Regions from separate parts of the Homo sapiens genome. Here all the other regions are linked to region 3. The links are contacts of gene promoters, found by promoter capture Hi-C in blood cells and fetal thymus (Javierre and others, 2016). All regions are on one chromosome and are shown on one strand. The core of a region is centred on a gene start or on the middle of the fragment in contact, and the rest is flanking DNA. Distances in the headings are between cores, read along the strand shown.

The links. Contacts are between HindIII fragments. The CHiCAGO score rates a contact against its expected background, and 5 or more counts as called.
Region 1: a contact is called between a fragment that was not itself captured here and the fragment with the promoter of ALDH1B1 in region 3, in 1 of 17 cell types (endothelial precursors). The highest score is 5.3, in endothelial precursors.
Region 2: a fragment that was not itself captured here is called in contact with the fragment with the promoter of ALDH1B1 in region 3 in 3 of 17 cell types (endothelial precursors, M0 macrophages and M2 macrophages); the score reaches 7.5 in endothelial precursors.
Region 4: a fragment that was not itself captured here is called in contact with the fragment with the promoter of ALDH1B1 in region 3 in 2 of 17 cell types (endothelial precursors and M2 macrophages); the score reaches 5.4 in endothelial precursors.
Region 5: a contact is called between a fragment that was not itself captured here and the fragment with the promoter of ALDH1B1 in region 3, in 1 of 17 cell types (endothelial precursors). The highest score is 6.5, in endothelial precursors.
Region 6: a fragment that was not itself captured here is called in contact with the fragment with the promoter of ALDH1B1 in region 3 in 1 of 17 cell types (endothelial precursors); the score reaches 5.0 in endothelial precursors.
Region 7: a fragment that was not itself captured here is called in contact with the fragment with the promoter of ALDH1B1 in region 3 in 2 of 17 cell types (M0 macrophages and endothelial precursors); the score reaches 7.4 in M0 macrophages.

Annotation. Positions count from the first base shown.
Region 1 is chr9:37,509,711-37,512,411 of GRCh38, reverse strand. It overlaps FBXO10 (F-box protein 10), which reads left to right. Exons shown (of 11, transcript NM_012166.3): 11 at 1-1,520. Among named protein-coding and RNA genes, the nearest start is that of POLR1E, 25 kb to the right of the region's middle. RefSeq lists an enhancer at 290-846. The HindIII fragment of the contact is 2,479 bases long and covers 144-2,622 here.
Region 2 is chr9:37,723,752-37,726,451 of GRCh38, reverse strand. It overlaps FRMPD1 (FERM and PDZ domain containing 1), which reads right to left. Exons shown (of 16, transcript NM_014907.3): 7 at 2,132-2,227. Among named protein-coding and RNA genes, the nearest start is that of TRMT10B, 29 kb to the left of the region's middle. The HindIII fragment of the contact is 1,610 bases long and covers 556-2,165 here.
Region 3 is chr9:38,391,429-38,394,128 of GRCh38, reverse strand. It overlaps ALDH1B1 (aldehyde dehydrogenase 1 family member B1), which reads right to left and starts at 1,427. Exons shown (of 2, transcript NM_000692.5): 1 at 1,322-1,427. RefSeq lists enhancers at 951-1,040, 1,081-1,130 and a silencer at 1,341-1,660. The HindIII fragment of the contact is 5,526 bases long and covers 1-1,974 here.
Region 4 is chr9:37,493,715-37,496,549 of GRCh38, reverse strand. It overlaps POLR1E (RNA polymerase I subunit E), which reads right to left. Exons shown (of 12, transcript NM_022490.4): 7 at 1,274-1,381; 8 at 564-660. Among named protein-coding and RNA genes, the nearest start is that of POLR1E, 9.2 kb to the right of the region's middle. The HindIII fragment of the contact is 1,908 bases long and covers 618-2,525 here.
Region 5 is chr9:37,475,961-37,478,660 of GRCh38, reverse strand. It overlaps the pseudogene KCTD9P3. Among named protein-coding and RNA genes, the nearest start is that of POLR1E, 8.6 kb to the left of the region's middle. RefSeq lists an enhancer at 331-1,530. The HindIII fragment of the contact is 4,652 bases long and covers 1-2,700 here.
Region 6 is chr9:37,641,988-37,644,687 of GRCh38, reverse strand. It overlaps a transcript of FRMPD1 not described here. Among named protein-coding and RNA genes, the nearest start is that of FRMPD1, 7.6 kb to the left of the region's middle. The HindIII fragment of the contact is 996 bases long and covers 819-1,814 here.
Region 7 is chr9:37,577,059-37,579,758 of GRCh38, reverse strand. No RefSeq gene overlaps it. Among named protein-coding and RNA genes, the nearest start is that of FBXO10, 2.0 kb to the right of the region's middle. The HindIII fragment of the contact is 2,060 bases long and covers 324-2,383 here.

The sequences.
Region 1 (2,701 bases), core at 134-2,633, 880 kb after region 3:
CCAGAACACTTCAGCTCCACAGCCCATAGCAAGAAGAAAGTGGGCAATGTTTTTCAGGGAGAAGGGATAGAAGCTGGTGGGTTTCCAGTCACTCGAAGTCTATAAAGATTGTGAAGAGCGGGGGAAGCTCAAATGCTGAAGCTTTTGGTCAGGATTTTCTCTGAGTTCTAAGGAACTGTGTTTTACACACACCAAACCCAGACTCTTCTCAGGAAAGAGCAGATTTACTTCTGATGGCGGGAAGTGATTCTAGTGAGGTGGAGAGAGACAACTGCTCCAGAATTTTCCCCTTTGCTAGAGCTGTCTCCCTCTCAATCCCTCCAGGGACCCCACCACACCCTCCCAGCTGTCTCTGGAGGCTGGAGGAGTTGAGTTTGGTTGACTTGAGGACTTGGACATGGACCTGGGAGGAAGGAAGGACCTGGGAGCAACAGGAGACCCCATGGAAAGGCTGCCCCAGGGATGACAAGAGGGACATGCTGAAACAGGTGGGGCTGCAGCGTGCAGGCAGATGCTAGGCTGGGTGGGCAGGGATGCACAAGGCTCTACTCCATCCCCAGAGAGCTCCCAAATGCAGAAGGATTCAAACCCCATGTGAGCGTGCCCACACCAGCCGCCCCTCCTGAGCATCAGCCTGTTCAGATGAGGGTACCTGGGCCTCTCGTTCGCATCTGTGTTCTCATGGATGAGCGCTGGTCTTTACTGACCCTCCCAAGCCTCCCCACTCTGTGCCTTGGCTCATGCTCTTTCCTCCTCCCGGCATGCCCTTCTCCCCCATCTCCGTGTCCTCGTTCCTCAAGGTTTAGCCGAGACACTGCCACCTCCACATAGCTCTCCCTGCCCTCTTTCCCCCTCTGGGCCTCAGTGGCCTTTCTCTGCTCCCTCTCAGGGTACTGAGCACTTTCTGCCTTGTCCTGGAGCTATCTGGGTCCATTGCCTGACCCCCCACTCACCTGTGTGCTCCCCGTAGGTAGGGCCACTTCTGACTGTGTGTCCCCAGATCCAGCCTGGGGTTGGGGTAGGATTAGTGGCCTGAGTGAGGAGAGGAAGGCCAGCTCCCAGAGGACTTTACTGAACCGTACTGTGAATATGTCCAAGTCCCAAAGCCAGGTGAGGTCAGACCCCACTGCCTGAGGAAGAGGGCTGGATGCAGGGCCAGCTCAACCTGAACAATCCCCTCCCACTCGGCCTTTCCTGTGGGGCCTTCACCAGCCTGCTGGGGTCACTGTCGTGCACTTGGCTGCGTGGCTGGTTCTATTGGCCCTAGGTGCTGCTCTGTTGGGTGGGATGGGAGGGGGTAGAGGGAGCCAGGAGCACTGGGTTCTCCCTGAGAACACTGGGCACAAGAGTACTGGCCTCTTCTATCCCTGGCACTGTCCTTTGCACTTGTTTGGTGGCCCCAATGTGAGTCGCTGTAAAAAATGCTGCCGTTACTATTTTCTAAGAAATGACTTTTCTGTGAACCAACAGTAACAAAAACCTCAGTAACCAAAATAAAGTTCTATATTTTAAAAAAGGCACTTTTGGAAGCCTTTCCTTAGTCTGGGCATATACTGGGGCTCCCAGCTGGCCAGGCCCAGCACTGTTTCCTCTGAAGGAGACAGGAGAATCCTGGGGCCATCTTGTTGGGTCAGCTTGTTCCTGTGACAGTTCCAGATATAGGGCTGAAGGGCTCAATCGGGCTATAATTCCACTCCTGCCTGCTCTGTGAAGACAACAGAAACAGGCCGTCCCCATGGATCACTGGACTGTCAGCTTAGGGACCTCAGACCCCGGAGCACACTTCCCCAACTTCACTTACTCAGCATCTTAGAATTTTTGCTATATCCATATGTCACCTGAGAAGTTAGTACTTTTTTCTTTAAATCTACTTAATTTTTAGAAGTTTTAAATATGCAGAAAAATTGAGCAGACAGATGATTACTAGAGTTCCCATATCACCCTTGCCACCCCCGAGTTTCTGTGTTATTAACATCTTATGCTATCAGTGTACATTTGTAAAAATTCATAAACTAGTACTGGCACATTATTAACTAAAGTCCATAGTTTATTCAGATTTTTTTCTTTTTGAAACGGGATCTCACTCTGTTGCCCAGGCTAGAGTGCAGTGGTGTGATCATGGTTCACCGCAGCCTTGACCTCCTCAGGCTCACTCAGGTGATCCTCCCACCTCAGCCTCCTGAGCAGCTGGGACTACAGGCATGCACCACCACGCCTGGCTAATTTATGTATTTTTTTGTAGAGACGGGGTTTTGCCATGTTGCCTAGCCTGGTCTCAAACTCCTGGGCTCAAGTGATCCGCCTGCTTCAATCCCCCAAAGTGCTGGGATTACAAACATGAGCCACTGTGCCTGGCCTCAGATTTCTTTAGTTTGTTACCTAATGTCCTTTTTCCATTCCAGGATCCCATCCTACAACATGTCTTTTTTTCACACACTGAAAAGACTTTTTATATTACTATAAACATACATTAAACTATTAAAATGAAAATATTCATTGGTTTTGGTAGTTACTGTTTGCTGCCCCTCAGGGAGAGTACATGCCCTCTCACGTTGCCATGGGACCTGATTTGCCCAGTGAATGTAGGCAGAAGTGGTTAATGGTCACTTCTGGGTAGAAGCTTTAAGGGCCAGCAGAACTTGCCCCGATCGTGTGTCCCTCTGCCAGTGGACCACCACGTGTCAGACATGGCAGCCCGAGT
Region 2 (2,700 bases), core at 111-2,610, 670 kb after region 3:
TGCTGGGATTACAGGCATGAGCCACTGCACCCGGCCCCTGGGTAATTTATTGCCAAGTTGTTGGTGATATAGAAATGCCTGGCACACAAAAAGTGTCAATAAATGTTTACTGGGTCAAATGACATATTCTTTTTCTTGGTTTAGAGAAAGAGGGTTTTCTAATACAAGAACTTTTCTTCCCTTAGTGAGGGAAAGGGGAAGAGAAGTCACTGATGAGTGGACAGTAATTTTTCCTTTTTTCACTCATAAGATTTATTTATGTCCACCTTTCTCTGTGTCGTAAACAGCTAAAGACTTTGCTTTAAAAAATTTGGCTATTACAGATAAATAAGATTAACCAGTATTATACTGGCTAAGTCCTTGTTCATTTCCCCAACTCTCTCTGTCATCTTAAGTTTAATTCCCCTGTAATGTGGGCCTTTATTGTAAACTACCTCAAAGTCCTTTTGGCCACCAAAGGGGGACTTGCTTTAAAAAAAATCAACCCTTCTATTCCAATCCACTTTGAGCAAAGATGATGAAAGTAGAACTCTTGTCTAATCCATTTGCAAAGCTTCCCTTTTCTGCAGAATGGCAGAGTGACAAGATTCCAGCACAGGATTCAAAAACAGACCAAGTTCAAAGCCAGTTATGAGCTAGCTGATCTTGACAGCTTTTGGGCCTCTTGGGCCTGTTTTCTCTTCTGCAAAGTGGGGATAACACTAGTTACTTCACAAGGTTGCTAGGGCATTAAATGAGATCGTATACAAGAAAGTGCCCAGGAAGCGTGCCTGGCATGTAGTAAACACTTAAAGTCTATTCCTCCATTGCTTCCTCCTCTGGGCTTGGAGTTCCCCAGGTTCAGAAAGCCCTTCTCCAGCTTCTTCTAACTCACATTTAGGAAGAAATAGAATAGAGCATTTGGAGCAGCTGTAGGAATTGCCAAATGAAGGTGCCAGAGAGAAGCACTGGATGTGTGCGTACAGGTGTATGTACATTGTACATATGTGTGCATGCATATGCATGTGTGTGAATGTACTGTGCAGATGTGTGTGTGCATGTGTGTCTTGGCTACTGTTTGTCCCCTATAGCTGCATTGGCCCTCCTGAACCTGCTCTCCCCTTGTACCAGAAGAGCTGGGCTCAATGTTTCCTCTTACATGGTTTTTACTGTTTGAACAACTTTGCTTCTTCACTGCGGCCTCACTCTAACACTATTTACTCCCTTGTTCAAGAACTGCTAGCACCATACGATATTATCTATGGATAAAACTCAAGCTCTATTGTTGCCTGGCATTTGAGGCCCTCCACAGCCACTCCTTCCACAAGAAAACAGCCTGTGCCCCAGTCCTGCTGGATGGTTTGCTATTTCCTGGGCAATTGCCATTTTTCTGGCTCTCTGCATTAGTTCACGTGACTCTCTGATTGATATGTACCCTACCCTCAACTGCCCTGTCCCTACTGGCCCTTGTTGAAATCTTAGTTATCCTCCAAAGCTCAGCGCAGGTCCAGCTTCTTTCCCATGCCTTGTCTGAAGTCTGGACAGGCTGGAAGAGATGGTACTCTTCCCCTTGCACTTGGCCCTTATTTCATCCTGCCTTGGACAATCAAGCATTCCCTGAACGTCCACCGTCCCTCAACTAGACTGCAAGCTCCTGAAGATCGAGACCACCCCTGACTAAGCTCAGTAACCCCTCTCAGATCATCTCATATGGGGAAACTTGTGAAGTATAAGTTCAATTGACTTTAACCAAGAACAGAATAGGCAGCGCCTGGGCCTTTCCTGACATCTCACCTGGGTTTTCGTAGTGTTTGGCGTAGCAGGTAGAGTCACAGACAAATGGCAGGGAAGCCTGGTGGTTATGGGTGAAGGCTTAGGAGTTCTAATCTGACCTTTGGGCAAGTCACTTCATCTCTCTAAGTCCCGATTCCCACCCCTTAACCCCCACCCAGTTACGATGGTGGTAAAAAGACCATCTTTCTGGGTGGTCGTGCAACGAAATGAGATAACATGGCACCTGGCTTATTATTACAGGGGCTCAGACCACGGTGTTTGTGAGACCACCAAGGCAGATGCAGGGCAAGATGCCTGGGGGGTCCTAGCAGCCAGAACATTCTTCTTGGGAAAAGAAGTTCAAGTTTATTCTTAATACCTTCACGGTTGTGTTTGCCTCAAACTTGAAAGCTTTGGTCTGTCCATTCTCCAAGTATAGCTTGAGCACGTTGGGCATACACAGCAGAGAATTACCCTGGAAAACACAAGAGTATTGTTGTATCCCTGTCTTTTTTTATTCCTTCTGGAGACAGGGTCTCTCTCTGTCACCCAGGCTGGAGAACAGTGGTACGATCTCGGCTCACTCAACCTCTGACTCCCAGGTTCAAGCGACTCTCCCACCTCAGCCTGCCAAATAGCTGGGATTACAGGCACCTGCCACCACGACTGGCTTTTATTTTTTTTTATTTTTTTTATTTTTTTTGACAGAGTCTCACTCTGTCACCCAGGCTGGAGTGCAGTGGTGCAATCTTGGCTCACTGCAACTTCCACCTCCTGGGTTCAAGCAAATTCTCCTGTCTCAGCCTCCCGAGTAGCTGAGACTACAGGCACACACCACCATGCCCAGCTAATTTTTGTATTTTTTTTTTAGTAGAGATGGGGTTTCACCATGTTGGCCAGGCTGGTCTTGAACTCCTGACCTCAGGTGATCCACCCGCCTCAGCCTCC
Region 3 (2,700 bases), core at 178-2,677:
AACAAAGGGGCACGAGAGCCTTTATTCCTGATGCAAGTCCTGCCCCTGTACCCTTTCCCCATTGGCTGGGGTCAGGTCGTACAATCTAAACTAATCCCGGTTGGCTAAACATTTGATTTATTTTAGATAGAGTGGGCACGTAAAAGAAAGTGGAGAGAAAGGGGAAAGGGTGTCTGTAATGAGCTAGAAAGTTAGTCTTCTTTCCAAATAAGCAAAGGAATGTGAGCTGGTACTGATAACGCTTGGTACTGTGGCATGCCTGGGCATCTAACAAAGGCAAAAAGGAGAAAAATGAAAAAAAAAAAGGGGGGGATACTAAGAATTAAAGAATAAAAGATTGATCAGATTATTTGAAGAGAAACCTCATCATATCCCACAGGGGGAAGCTGAGTCAGCAGATCTGCCAGGGGTGCCCAGGGTTCCATTTAGCTCAGGACTTTGCCATATGCTGGGACACAGCCCCCTTGCCACCAACAGGCCTGGCTCTGAGGGTGAGGAGACCAAAAGGAGGTAGGGGAAAGGGGAGTCACCAACCCATGGGGTAAGGATTGGAGGGGTGAAGCAGTCAGGAGAGGTGGTCATAGGCCAAGGCTGGCAAACCTTTGCAGCCACACCAAGGCCGTTCCTACTCTTGGGGCCTATATGGGGTTCTTGCTGGGGCCTCCACTTGCTGATAGGAAGATCACAGCTCACAGAGCATCATGCTTTACAGTTTGCAGGCTGTCTTCTCACGGGAAATTTGCCAAGCCTCTCTGCAGTCCCTGGGTGGTCAGGGTTGATGATGACCCCCATTCTGGAAGAAGGCTGGGCATCAGAGAGGTTCAGGGACTCACCGAGGACACACAGCAAGAAAGTATAGGAGCCTCACCCCAGACTTCCACAAACCTAGCTTTGCATATCCTCCTGAATACAGGCAATTTTTTACAGTTCACCCACAGCGGGAAGGACCGGACCTTCTCTATCCGCGGGAACTGCAGCGGCGCCCACCTCACCCCTTCTGCGGGGGAAAGGGCGCAACCTTTGGGCTTGTCCAAGCCTCTGGGCTATGGTCAGGGGCCCTCTGTTGAAGTGGGCCGAGTGGGCAGGAGTGTTGAGGTCGAGCTAACGTGGTAAGGTCTGGGGGCGTCTGTGTCCTCGGGGCTCCTGTAGCGTCACCCAGAGGCGGGGGATGGGATTAGGGGACGTGGAGAGAGTCCTACAGTGCAACGGCGGAAAGGCCAGCCCCCAGATGCGGACGCCGCGGCCCAGAGAGGAAAGCCCCCACGCGGAGCCAGGAGCTGCGGCTTCCCGAGGGAGCCGAGGGGAGACCAGCGTTAGTTACCTGCAGCAGGCTCGGGCTCCGGTTCAGGATCACGCTTGGGTTCTGGTTCCGGCCCTCCCAGCTCTGTCCACATGGCCGCCCAGGGCTGGCCGCAGGTCCCGCCTCCGCGCAGCCCGGGGCTCAGCGGCCAATGAGGCTCCGCCTGCGCCTGGGGCGCTGCCTACGTCCTGTCGCCGGCCAAGGCCGCTCCTCCCTCGCCCCGCCCGGTCTTTCCCGGTCCCCGCCCCTCTACCCCCGGCAGCCCGCACCGCTTCAGCGCTCCCTCCCTCGGGTCTCCGCAAGCCCAGTGTCCACGTTGCTCAGATCTAGGCTCCTAAGGCACTGGTTTGGGAGCGGAAACAGAGATACCCAGAGAGGGGCAGGGGCTTCCCCAGGTCACACAGCAAAGTTTTCGGAGACCGAACCCCAACTACACTTTGCATTTCTCCCCGCTGCAAGACGCTGCTTAATCGACTGCCATCCTTGAGACTCCCCTTAACCCCTTCTCTGCCTCGCCTCTCCCTCACTTTTTTTGTCCAGGATTCACTAATTTCTGTCCTCCACTTTCACTGCTCCTTTCTTCAGTTCCTTCAAGAAGATTTTATATTTGGGCATTTTTCAAAGTACATTTTTGTCCTAAGGACAAAAAGAATGTATGCACAGTGTAGAAAGCTTGGAAAACACAGGAAAGGATGAAAAAAGAAGAAAAATATCACCTGTAATCTCTTCACCTACGGTAGCCATTATTACGGTGTTCGTCCTGCTAGTATTGTTTCCTCTGCATCTTTCAAAATTATTTTAATAAAAATAAAATCATATAGTAACCTCTGTTGTGCTGCTTTAAAAAAAATTTAAAAACTTAGCGCTGTATTTTGAAGTTTTCTCCTATCACTAATTACAGATGACATCATCCTCTCCAAGGTGGCATAGAATTCTGTTGTAGGGGTAAACTGTTGGACATTTAATTGTCTCCATTTTGTTGCTATAAAGGTTGCCAAGATGGACCACTGAACATGCATCTCACTCGCTCCACCCTCGCTGCACCTTCCTTCTGGCTAGGGAGGTCCCAAAGCTAACCGCCATGTTTCCCAGCCTCATTTGCAGTTAGAGTTCTGGATGTGGACTAGGTGCTGCCAATTAGTAGTACTCTGCCGGATGTGGAAGGCGGGCACGCATTGGAGGGTATTGTCCTGCCCCTGTAGGGTGGCACTAGCAGGATAGCAGAAATGGGAGATGTTCTGCGGCAGCATTCCTTGTCCCTTCTCCAGCTTTCTGGCTGTGGACCGGCCGCTGTGGCTGTAGCCGCTCCTTGACCTGGCTTCCTGCTCTTTGAATGGAGGCTGCAGGAGGGTGTCTGAAGTAGCCTCAGACAGGCACGAGGCTGGTGGGCCACGTCCATA
Region 4 (2,835 bases), core at 322-2,821, 900 kb after region 3:
AACCTCAGATTGACAACTCTTTATCAAAATAAAATTATTAAAAGAAAAAACTCAAAAGCAAAAAAAACTCACTATCATAAAAGAAGCTGTTTTAATGGGAAAGGGGAGGGAGAAGGAAATAATCTCTGAATTATTTAAAATATACAATATTTTAAATACATAAATTTAATGTTAGAAAAGTTTGCCTACCATATCATCACAGAGAAACCATCACTTTGGCCAGCACCCATTCCCAGGCCAGCATTTGGGCCCTGCCAGTGACAATCAGCACCAGCATGACACTGGGTGACACAGGCCAGCTCTAGTTCCCAGCCCCAGAGTAGAAGGCCTCACCACCCTCTGCCCTGTCGCAGGTCCCACGGACTCAGAGACCAGCCCTCTCCCTCGAATGTGACCCACAGCTCCTGAAAGCCCAAACATTCAAGAAAACACTGGCTCATTCATGTCCAATGCTCCAGACACACTTCCTCACTGACTGACGCCCAGAGGACCTGCACAGTGTCTGACTACTGTTGGGTCCCAACAGCACTCCCCAGAATCCCCATCTGCTTAAGTCAGGGTACCTGTTCTCCTCAATCATCTTCAGTATTTCTTCTGACGTGACGTTCCTGAAAGCTTCAGATGGGCTCTGAAGAGCTTCATACTCCGCAGGGGAAAGAACTAGTTACAGGTCAAGAATATAATCCAACCAAAATAGAAACATCCAACTAGCTAGGTCATCTCATAGCAGTGGCATTTCACAGACAGGGAAACAGGCTCAGAGAGCCAAAGATCACACAGGGCAGATCACATAGGGGCAGAGCTTGGTGACTCAGTTCTCCGACTCCCAGCCCAGAGCCCATTCCCTGCCCAGGCTTTTCTGCTTTTTCTCATCACAAAGCCACTGCAGGCATTTTCCTTCTGACCGGACCCCTTGGGTGGTGAAATTCTAAGCTCCAACCCTTCCTTCAACAAAAGTGGTCTGCCCTAGACTTTGGGCATTTGGCTGGTTCAACTCTTATTTTGACTCTCCATGGAGAGTGAGCCCCACAGGTCTAAGCTGTGGGCATTTGGCATTTTGCTGAGGAATGGATTTGAATCCCAGGGGCCGGTCCCTCAGCTAGTGAGGAAGCCAAGTTAACCTCCTGGCAAGAGCACTGAGCAACTGCAAAGGTTTGGATGGAGCTCTTGTGAATGTCACAGAACACAGACACCCTCAGAGAACCTGACTGCACACACGTGCAAACATCTCAACTTGTGAAATAAGGCAGCTTTTCTACTGCAAGAAGGATACGATCTTCAAATTTATACACGTCTTCAGGCTTGGCTGCATCATCATAGCAGGGAGGAAGGTAGAGGGAGTCATCTTGCAAGTCATTGTGGATAGCATCGCTGACCAGAGCTTTTCAATAAAGAAACAATCCATGTATCACCCTGTTTGTTTCCAGTTCCCCAACATTCTTTTCAGTCTGTGCACTTCAGACCACCAATGGTCCAGAAACCCCAAGTCTAAATGCTTCTGCCAAAGTGACCTCGCCTCCCCATCAGGCTGACTGCTTCAGGACTGCCATGTTCACTCATGAACAAACACAAGCTAGGCACTGGAGAAGGTGGAGGTGACAAGATTCCCCTCAGGTAACTTACAATAGAGTTGGGATTGACAGCTGTGCTAATACATAAACATTTACAATATAAAATGAGAGAAACTAAAAGTGAGGGACGTCCAAAATAGCCTTTAATGGCTTAACTTCTAGAAAAACTTGCCACACATTGTAGGTGGAACAAAACTTTCAGAATATAACACTGTAACTGCCCCACAAGAATAACTCCGCAGCCAGGTGTGGTGGCTCACACCTGTAACCTCAACATTTTGGAAGGCCAAGGCGGGAGGATGGCTTGAGCCCAGAAGTTTGAGACCAGCCCAGGCAACATGGCAAGACCCTGTCTCTCCAAAAAACTAAAAAAATTAGCTGAGCATGGTGGCACACATCTGTGATCCCAGCCACTTGGGAGGCTGAAGTAGGAGGATCACTTGAGCCCAGGAGGTTATGGCTGCAGTGAGCCATGTCTGCACCACTGCACTCTAGTCTGGGTGATAGAGCAAGACCCCATCTCCAATCAATCAATAAATAAATTTGTGAAAGTGTTGAAATCTATATAATCATAGGGTATGGAAAGATTTTCCAAAAATTACTAGAATTTCATTCTTAATAGAAAAACTGCTCTGCCCAGGGCACAGTGGTGTGCGCCTATAATCCTAGCTACCTGGGAGGCTGAGGCGGGAGGACTGCTTGAAGCCAAGGGTTCAAGATCAGCCTGGGCAACATAGCAAGACCTCATCTCCAAAATCGGTAAAAAGAAAAGCTACTCTTACACAAACTTGCTCTTATGTTCTTATAATGTATTTGAACAATAAATACATTTTAAAATAATACAATTAAATACTCCAGCTGCTGAATACCGGAAACAGAGCCACTGATCCCAAAGTGAAATGCCACCTCTGGAGGCTCATTTCCATCAACACATCAGCCTTTTTGACCAAAGCTTCCCTGCAACGCACAAGGAGAGACCTGAGGCCTTCTCCCTCCTCTGTGCCCTGCAGGCCATAACCCCAGCACCATAAGCACGGCAGGCATGTATCCATTCCATGCCTGTCCCTGTACTTGACTGTGGATCACTAGAAGACAAAGCCATGTCGGATGTTTCTTACTACTTCCAGAACCTGTCCGTGAGAAGGCCTTCAGCAAGAGGCTGAAAGGAATCCAGCCCTAGCTCCCAGCATTCCATGTGTGGGTGGGTAAAAGATCTCAAGAGAAGAGAAAGCTGTCATTATGGGCAGACTCTTAGCCCAAGTTC
Region 5 (2,700 bases), core at 139-2,638, 920 kb after region 3:
TCAAACCAAGAGGGCATTTCCACATCATGCCTATTTAAAAGCAAATACAATAGATACTATTCGTGGTCATAAAACCAGGTAAACTCCCCTACCCCATTCAAAAGGCAGCAATATCTAGTTTCCCTACATCTATTGAATGAGTGCTTTTGCGTTAAAAATCAGAATATGGAAAAAAAAGTCAGTTTTTTCCCTTATGCATGCTGAAAACAAGCATAATCCTCTAAATGATTTTTTAAAATTTGCTGACAGTGTTATTTCTTCTAGACAACTGAGTGGGTGGAGAAAGAAAAGCGATAAGGAAAACATTTTCATCTTGCACATCTTCCTTCAGCCCCTAAAATTCTCATCTGACACTTTGCGACATGTGTAGTGGTGTCAGCATCTCTTCAAATCTAGCTCCCCTCACGTTGGACCCTCTCAGGTTGGCTTCTTGAAGATCACACCCAGACAGATCACAGTTCTCTAAATCAGTTCCTGTCAGAGTTGCTCCTCTGAGGCTACAGTTCTTCAACTTTGCATTTTTTAAGGTAGCCACTCTCAGGTTAATTCCTGTCATCTGACTTCCTTCCATATCCACACCTTTCAGATTAGCACCTTCTAAATTGGCTTTAAGACCAGAAGGATCCTCAAAATTACACAGTTTCAGAGATGCTCCTTCTGCATTAGAACAGAGCATTTGACTCCCTGGAGATTTGCACAGTCAAGCACTGATCCAGAGAGATCAGCTCATTCAAGATTTGCACAGCAAAGATTTGCATGTGCAAGATTGCAGCAGTTTAAATTGGTGATTTTGAAGTTAATGTATCGAAGATCCAAATGAGAAAGTTCAGCACCACTGAAGTTCAAACCCTGGCATCGCATTTCTGACTTGGTTGGAGTTGCTAGCAAACATCGGACAAATTCCTTTCGGGATATTGGTAAGTGATCCTCTGGTGGTTGAGAATTCTTTATTGCCACTTTTAGGTGTTCAATCAATGAGTCAATACCAAAAAATCTTGCTTCTTCTAACACACCCAATAAATCAATGCCATCATTTACAATGAGCTGTCCATGACGCAAGTAGTTCAAAATGGGTTCAAAGTACTCAGGACTTTGGTCAATTAAGAAAGCTCCTCTATGATCTTGCTTATTTCCCCAGACACCTTTGTCCTTAAACATGTGGGCCAGCATAATGTCAGGTTCTTTATTCACTAAAGTGCTCCAGGTAGTTGTAAAGTACTGCCCTCCAACATGTAATGTTAGCCAGTCTGTGTGGAATCCTAGCAATCCTTCAGGAGGCTTAGAATCTGTCTGAGGATCAATAAATGGCTCTCCCTCACACACAAATAAAACATCATCATCCCTGATCAAAACAATATCATCATTCAGTCCACCTTTCCCATTATACACACTGGTGGCTTTTATGCCGAGTTTACTGCTGGCCACAGACAGCAAATCACATGAAGTTCCATATGCAGCAACCACCTTTCCGTTCTTGGGGCTGCCGTTCAGGAACAGGGTCACCCGCCTCATTGCGCTGCCCCCGCGGGTTCCTGAGTGAGCTGCCACCCTCCCACCTGGTCCTCTTCCCACCTTTTTCTCCTCCCGCCCTTCCCCTCCCTCCACCCACTCTGATTCACCTCCCTTCGCCAAATTCCTGCCCTTGGGGACACACCACACACGCACTCTGTCCCACATGAGGGTTCGGCTGGTCCTCCTTCCCACCCCTAAAAAGGATTCTTAATACACAGTCAAATTTATCGCTGAACAATTTTCAGATGTTTTAAAATCCTCATGCTGTCTTCTAACATTGTACAAGACATTTCAAAAGATATAAGAATTAAAATCTACGATCCTTGGCTTCAGGAACTAACTTCCTAGGAGGAACACAGAAAATGGAAAAAGCATACTATAGGGTGGATACTGCTGAGTCTCTAGAATTGCCCTTTTAGGTTCTATCAGGTTTTTTTGTTTTTGTTTCTTTGGAGGCAGAGTCTCACTCTGTCACCCAGGCTGGAGTGCAGTGGTGCGATCTCAGCTCACTGCAACCTCCGTCTCCTGGGTTCAAGCGATTCTCCTGCCTCAGCCTCCTGAGTAGCTGGGATTACAGGCACCTGCCACCATGCTTGGCTAATTTTTTTGTATTTTTAGTAGAGATGAGGTTTCACCATGTTGGCCAGGCTGGTCTTGAACTCCTGACCTCAAGTGATCTGCCTGCCTTGGCCTCCCAAAGTGCTGGGATTACAGGTGTGAGCCGCCACACCCGGCCTGGTTCTGTCAGTTTTGTTGGCTTCACATATTGCCATGGTTTGAATGTCCCCTCCAAAAGTCATGTTGAAATGTAATTGCCATTGTGATAGTATTAAGAGGTGGGGCCTTTAGTAAGTGACTAGGGGCTGGGCATGGTGGTTCACGCCTGTAATTCTAGCACTTTGGGAGGCTGAGGTGAAAGAATTGCTCAGGAATTCGAGACCAGCCTGGGCAACATAGTGAGACCTTGTCTCTACCAAAAAATAAACAAGGCTGGGTGCAGTGGCTCATGCCTGTAATCTTGGCACTTTGGGAGGCTGAGGCGGTTGGATCACCTGAGGTTGGGAGTTCCAGATCAGCCTGGCCAACATGGTGAAACCCTGTCTCTACTAAAAATACAAAAAAAAAATAACTGGGCATGGTGGCAGGTGCCTGTATCCCAGCTACTTGGGAGGCTGAGGCGGGAGAATC
Region 6 (2,700 bases), core at 67-2,566, 750 kb after region 3:
ATTCAGATTCAGGTTTATTTGGGAAACTGAGCTCTATTGTTGGGGAGGAAAGATGGCTGTATTAGAACTGTGTTATAGAGAAACTTCCTAAATCACCTTAGCGTGCCTACCCAGGGGGCTTCTCTGAAGATGGGGGGCCACCTTCCAAGCCCTTCTCTTACCCAGCTCCCTGCTGAGGGGACCCAAATTGTGAGCCATACAGTGAATGGGGCATAGGACACTGTTGCCTATAGCTGGAGCCCAATCCCACACAGACAATCGCAGTGCAGGATTGGCAAAGGGCGGTGTTGCTGCCACACCGTCCACCATTGCAAGAAGGACAAAGGCCCAGGAGCCTGAGAACTAGTCAGCCTCGCTAGTGAGTCTGCAGTGAAGGCTTTCAATCCTGGGCTACCTGAGGGGCCCAGCTACCCCAACTAAGCAGGACCTCTCAACAGGAGAGGAAGAACTGTCCCTGCCCACTTCCTGCAAATAGCTCTGTGGGAAGACCCCTGACTCTGTCAAGACCTGCCTCTGTAGAACCGAATGTCACAGGTGGACCAAACTATCCCTTCAGGGTCACACCTAGCCCACACAGCATCTTTATGTGGGTTAGAAAAAAGCTTCCCCTCTCAGATACCTTTGTGAAAATGAGAAAATATGCTTCCTTCCTTTGGGCCAATGTAGCTCCACACTAGGGTACACAGCTCAGCAAGTGGATGTTGGCTCCTATTAATCCTCTCCACCAGATGCCCTTGCAATAAGCAAACTACACAATGGCACACAGCAGCGCAACCCCACCCTATTAATTCTGGGAGTGTCCAAAGATCCTAAAAGCTTCTTCCACCTCACCTCAGCCTGGTGGACCCAGCCAGGTAGCTTTGTTCACCACCAGGCCACTGGAGAAGCATCATTCTTTCCTTTCATGATCGCTGAACTATTGTACCCAAGAGGCCACAAAAGCCCAACTTACCCACTTGTGGATATAAGTAGCCAAAGCAGATCAGAGATTATTTAAAGGGAGTCAATAGCTTGAAGGAGCACAACCAAGACAAATAACTAAAAGAGAGGAATCACATTGAGATCAATTTAATAGAAGAAAAACTAACTTTTTAAAATCAAAAATGTAAGGAGATTCAAGCAGAGACTAGAAAGAAATGATCAAAATGAGGAAAAATTGTTTTTGAAAGTTAAATACACAATTTTTTAAATTTGCAATTGTGGAAATGAAAAATGTAATGAACACCACTGAAAACTGATTTAATGATCTGAAAGATGAAAAAGGAGAACTACCCCACAGTACCAAACCAAAATTAAAAAGAAATAGAAATTATGAGTCAGAGGGTTTTAAAACATTGATGAAATATCTAGAAGATATGCAAATAATAGTACCAAATGGAGGAAAAAAATAACAAAGGAGCAAAGCAATAACCAAAATATAATAGAAAAAAAGACTAAGCCCATAGTCTTGAATTATCAGATAAAATGTATGCACTTGAATTACCTATACATTAAATGTATGGACTTGAGTTATCAGGTAAAAAAGACTCTAATTTCTACACTGTATTAATTTTAAAACACACACCTAGAACTTCCAGTCCTGGGCATTTCACTGAAAAGGGTAAAATGTCAGGAGCAGTAGACTGTAATAAGTTATTTATGTATGATTTAATACTTGAGCAACAACTTTAAAAACTATACAGAGAGATACACTCAAAAATACTTTAGATAAATCAAAGTAGAATTCTTTAAAAAGCCCAAGTACTCCACAGGGAGGCAGGAAAAAGAAAAAAGAGGAGTGAGAAATGGGGAACAAACAGATGGGAGAGAAAGCTTCCAAGACTTTCCCCTGTGCAGAAAGAAAAGAAATAACAACATAGCAGAGTTAAGTGCTAACATTTTAGTAATTATATTAAATGTAAATAATCTAAATACACCAATTAAAAGACAAAGATTGGCAGAATGGATATTTAAAAATATATCCTGGTGAAATTTCTGAACTCCTAGAATAAAGAGTAAATGTCATGAGCTTCCAGGCAATGTGAATAGCTTACCGAAGGAGGAAACAGAGCCCTCTGGAATTATGGATCCCACAAATCGTCCTTGCCAAATTTTATTGAGACCTAATATTTGTTAGGCACTGTTCTAAGCGGTTTATCTCATTTTAATAACCCTATGAATTATATATTAATATCCCCACTTTATAAATGAGAAAACCAAGGCCAAATGTTCCCCTGGTCACTCAACTAGTAAGAGCTTGGATTCAAATCCAAGAAATCTAGTGAAAGAAACTAAATAATAAGTCCAAGTCAGCTATTGAAGGGGAGAGGGATGATAGAGCTTCCAGGCAGAGAGAACAGCCTATGGGAAGGCTCTAAGGATGGAAAGGAACACCTATTAGATGCTATGTATTTTTAATATACTAACACAAAAACTCCAACAAGCAAGTATCATGTGTCTTTTTTGCAGACAAAGAGACTCTACATGGTTAAGTAACCTGCTCAAGATCATCCAGATAGCTGGTGTTGGTGATTGAGTCAGAATTTAAATCTGGGAGGGTTCTGCTACCCTCCTCTGTTCTGTCAACAGGTGAAAACAGCTTTTGGAGCATATTTCCCATGGTGATTGTCTTTCTCACTCCAATAGTTTTGCTGTAGTGATCCAGAAATTTAAATTTTAAAGAGCAAAGGGCCTGTCCTACCTTTCTAGGTTATTTTGGTC
Region 7 (2,700 bases), core at 104-2,603, 810 kb after region 3:
AAAATACAAAAATTAGCTGGGCCTAGTGGCTGGTACCTGTTAATACCAGCTACGGGGGAGGCTGAAGCAGGACAATCGCTTGAACCTGGGAGGTGGGGGTTGCGGTGAGCCAAGATCATGCCATTGCACTCCAGTCTGGGCGACAAGAGCAAAACCCCATCTCAAAACAAACAAAAATTCCCATGTGGCACGTGATGCTTGCCCCACTAATAGGGAAGACAGCTTGCTCTTGTAGGACACTGCTGTAGCACTTTGAAAGTCAGCTGTTTTATACAAATACCAAAATGATAATGTTAGCTGGCACAAATCCAGAAACTCAAGCTTTTGATTGTTTATTGACAGTCATATCTGGACTGCCAGTTTCATGGAGTAAGATACTTTTCAAAGGATTAAATATGGCATAGCTTTGTCAGTCAGCAAGGTAAATCATCAGGCTCATTGCAGTGTGAGACTACCCCTGTGGTCTTTCTACTATACCTAGCTACTGTACAACTTTGTGTCTTAAAATAAATTGTTGGCTTTAGGTTTTAGTGTTTGGTTTTCTTATTTATAAAAGAGACCAGCTACATGGTAACTTAGACCTCACCCAGAATCATACCACATTCACCATATGGTAATAATAGATGGAATACATTTTTATGGAATATATTCTATAGAACCAGGGACTGAAAAAGGTCAGTAGGACCACGGGGTCAATTATTTCAGGCCACAATTTCGTGTAATAATTTCTTTTTCATAGTATTCTTGGTAAATTATGTTTCTATAGCTGATATTCTCTCGTAAATTCCGGAGGTCTGTATCCAACTCCTTTTCTTTTTTAGAGACAGGGTCTTGCTTCGTTGCCCAGGTTGGTCTCAAACTCCTGGGTTCAAGCGATCCTCCTGCCTCAGCCTCCTGAGTAGCTGGGATTACAAGTGAACTGCTTTTTTTTTTTTTTTTTTGAGACACAGTCTCACTCTGCCACTCAGGCTGGAGTGCAGTGGCGCACGATCTCTGCTCACTGCAACCACCACCTCCCAGGTTCAAGCGATTCTCCTGCCTCAGCCTCCTGATAGCTGGAATTACAGGCACGCGCCACCACACCCAGCCAATTTTTGTGTTTTTAATAGAGACGGCGTTTCACCATGTTGGTCAGTCTGGTCTCAAACTCCTGACCTCGTGATTCGTCCGTTCGACCTCCCAGAGTGCTGGGATTACAGGCGTGAGCCACCACGCCCAGCCGTGAATTGCTTTTTTAATCACTCCACTTGGATGACACACAGGCATCTCAAAATTAATTATTTTTAATTGATAGATAATTGTACATATTTATGGGGTACATGTGATATTTGACTCATGCATACAATACGTAATGATCAAATCAGGGTATTTAGAATATCCATCTCAAAAATTTATCATTTATTTGTATTGGGAGCATTTAAATCTAGCTATTTTGAAATATACAATAAATTATTGTTAACTACAGTCACCCTACTGTGCTATTGAACACTAAAATTTATTCCTTCTATCCATGTTTGTACCCATTAACCAACCTCTCTCTATCCCCTTCCCCTCCCAGCCTCTGGTAACTGTCATTCTACTTGCCAACTGCATGAGATCAACTTTTTAGCTCCCACGTATGAGTGAGAACATGTGATATTTGTCTTTCTATGCGTGGCTTATTTCACTTTACATAATGACCTCCAGTTCCATCTGTGTTGCTGCAAATGACAGGCTGAATAGTATTCTGTTGTGTATATATGCCACATTCTTTTTATCCATTCATCTGTTGATGAAGACTTAGGTTGCTTCCATATCTTGGCTATTGCGAATAGTGCTGCAATAAACATGGGGATCCAGGCATACCTTTGACATACTGATTTCCATTCCTGGATAAATATCCAGCAGTGGGACTGCTGGATCATATGGCAGTTCTAGTTTTACTTTTTTGAGAAACCTCCATGCATTTTTCTATACTGGCTGTATAATTCAGTGTATGAGAGTTCCCTTTTCTCCATGTCCTCACCAGCATTTGTTATTTTTTTGTCTTTTTGTTAATAGTCATTCTAACTGGCAGTGTCAAATTTAACAAGTTCAAATGGGAGTTCTTGATCTCCCCCCGCTTCCAAATATATTCCCCTTACAATAGTTCCCATTTCAATAAATAGCACCTCCACGGGCCCAGTTAATAGGTTAAGCTACCAATCTCTGCTTCCACCCTTAACTCCTGTCTTCACATAGTAGCTGACATACTGCTTTAAAAGGTATCAAATCCTCCACCCCTTCGATGGCTTCCTGTTACGTACAATTTTAAAATCCTTATCATGGCCTATTAAGTGCTGCGTGATCTGGCCCCTACCTACCTTTCTGACCTCACTTATATTGTTCTTCCCGTTAAAAAGCTTCAGACAAGCTAGACGTTTTCCATTTCCACAAAGAGCGATCTTTTCTCCTCCAACCCAACCCACCTGGTCCAAGAGTTTTCACAGGGCTTACCCTGCCCCTCTTCCATTTGGCTAACTCTTTATCTTACTCTGAGAGGTCTTCCTTGACTACCCTTCCTTGGTCCCTAATTTATTTAGTTTTATTTTTGAAACAAGAGTCTCGCCCTGTCACCCAGGCTGGAGTGCAGTGGCACAATCATGGCTCACTGTTAACCTCGAACTCCTGAGCTCAAGTGATCTTTCCTCCAGCCTCGGCCTGCAAAAGCGCTGGGATTAC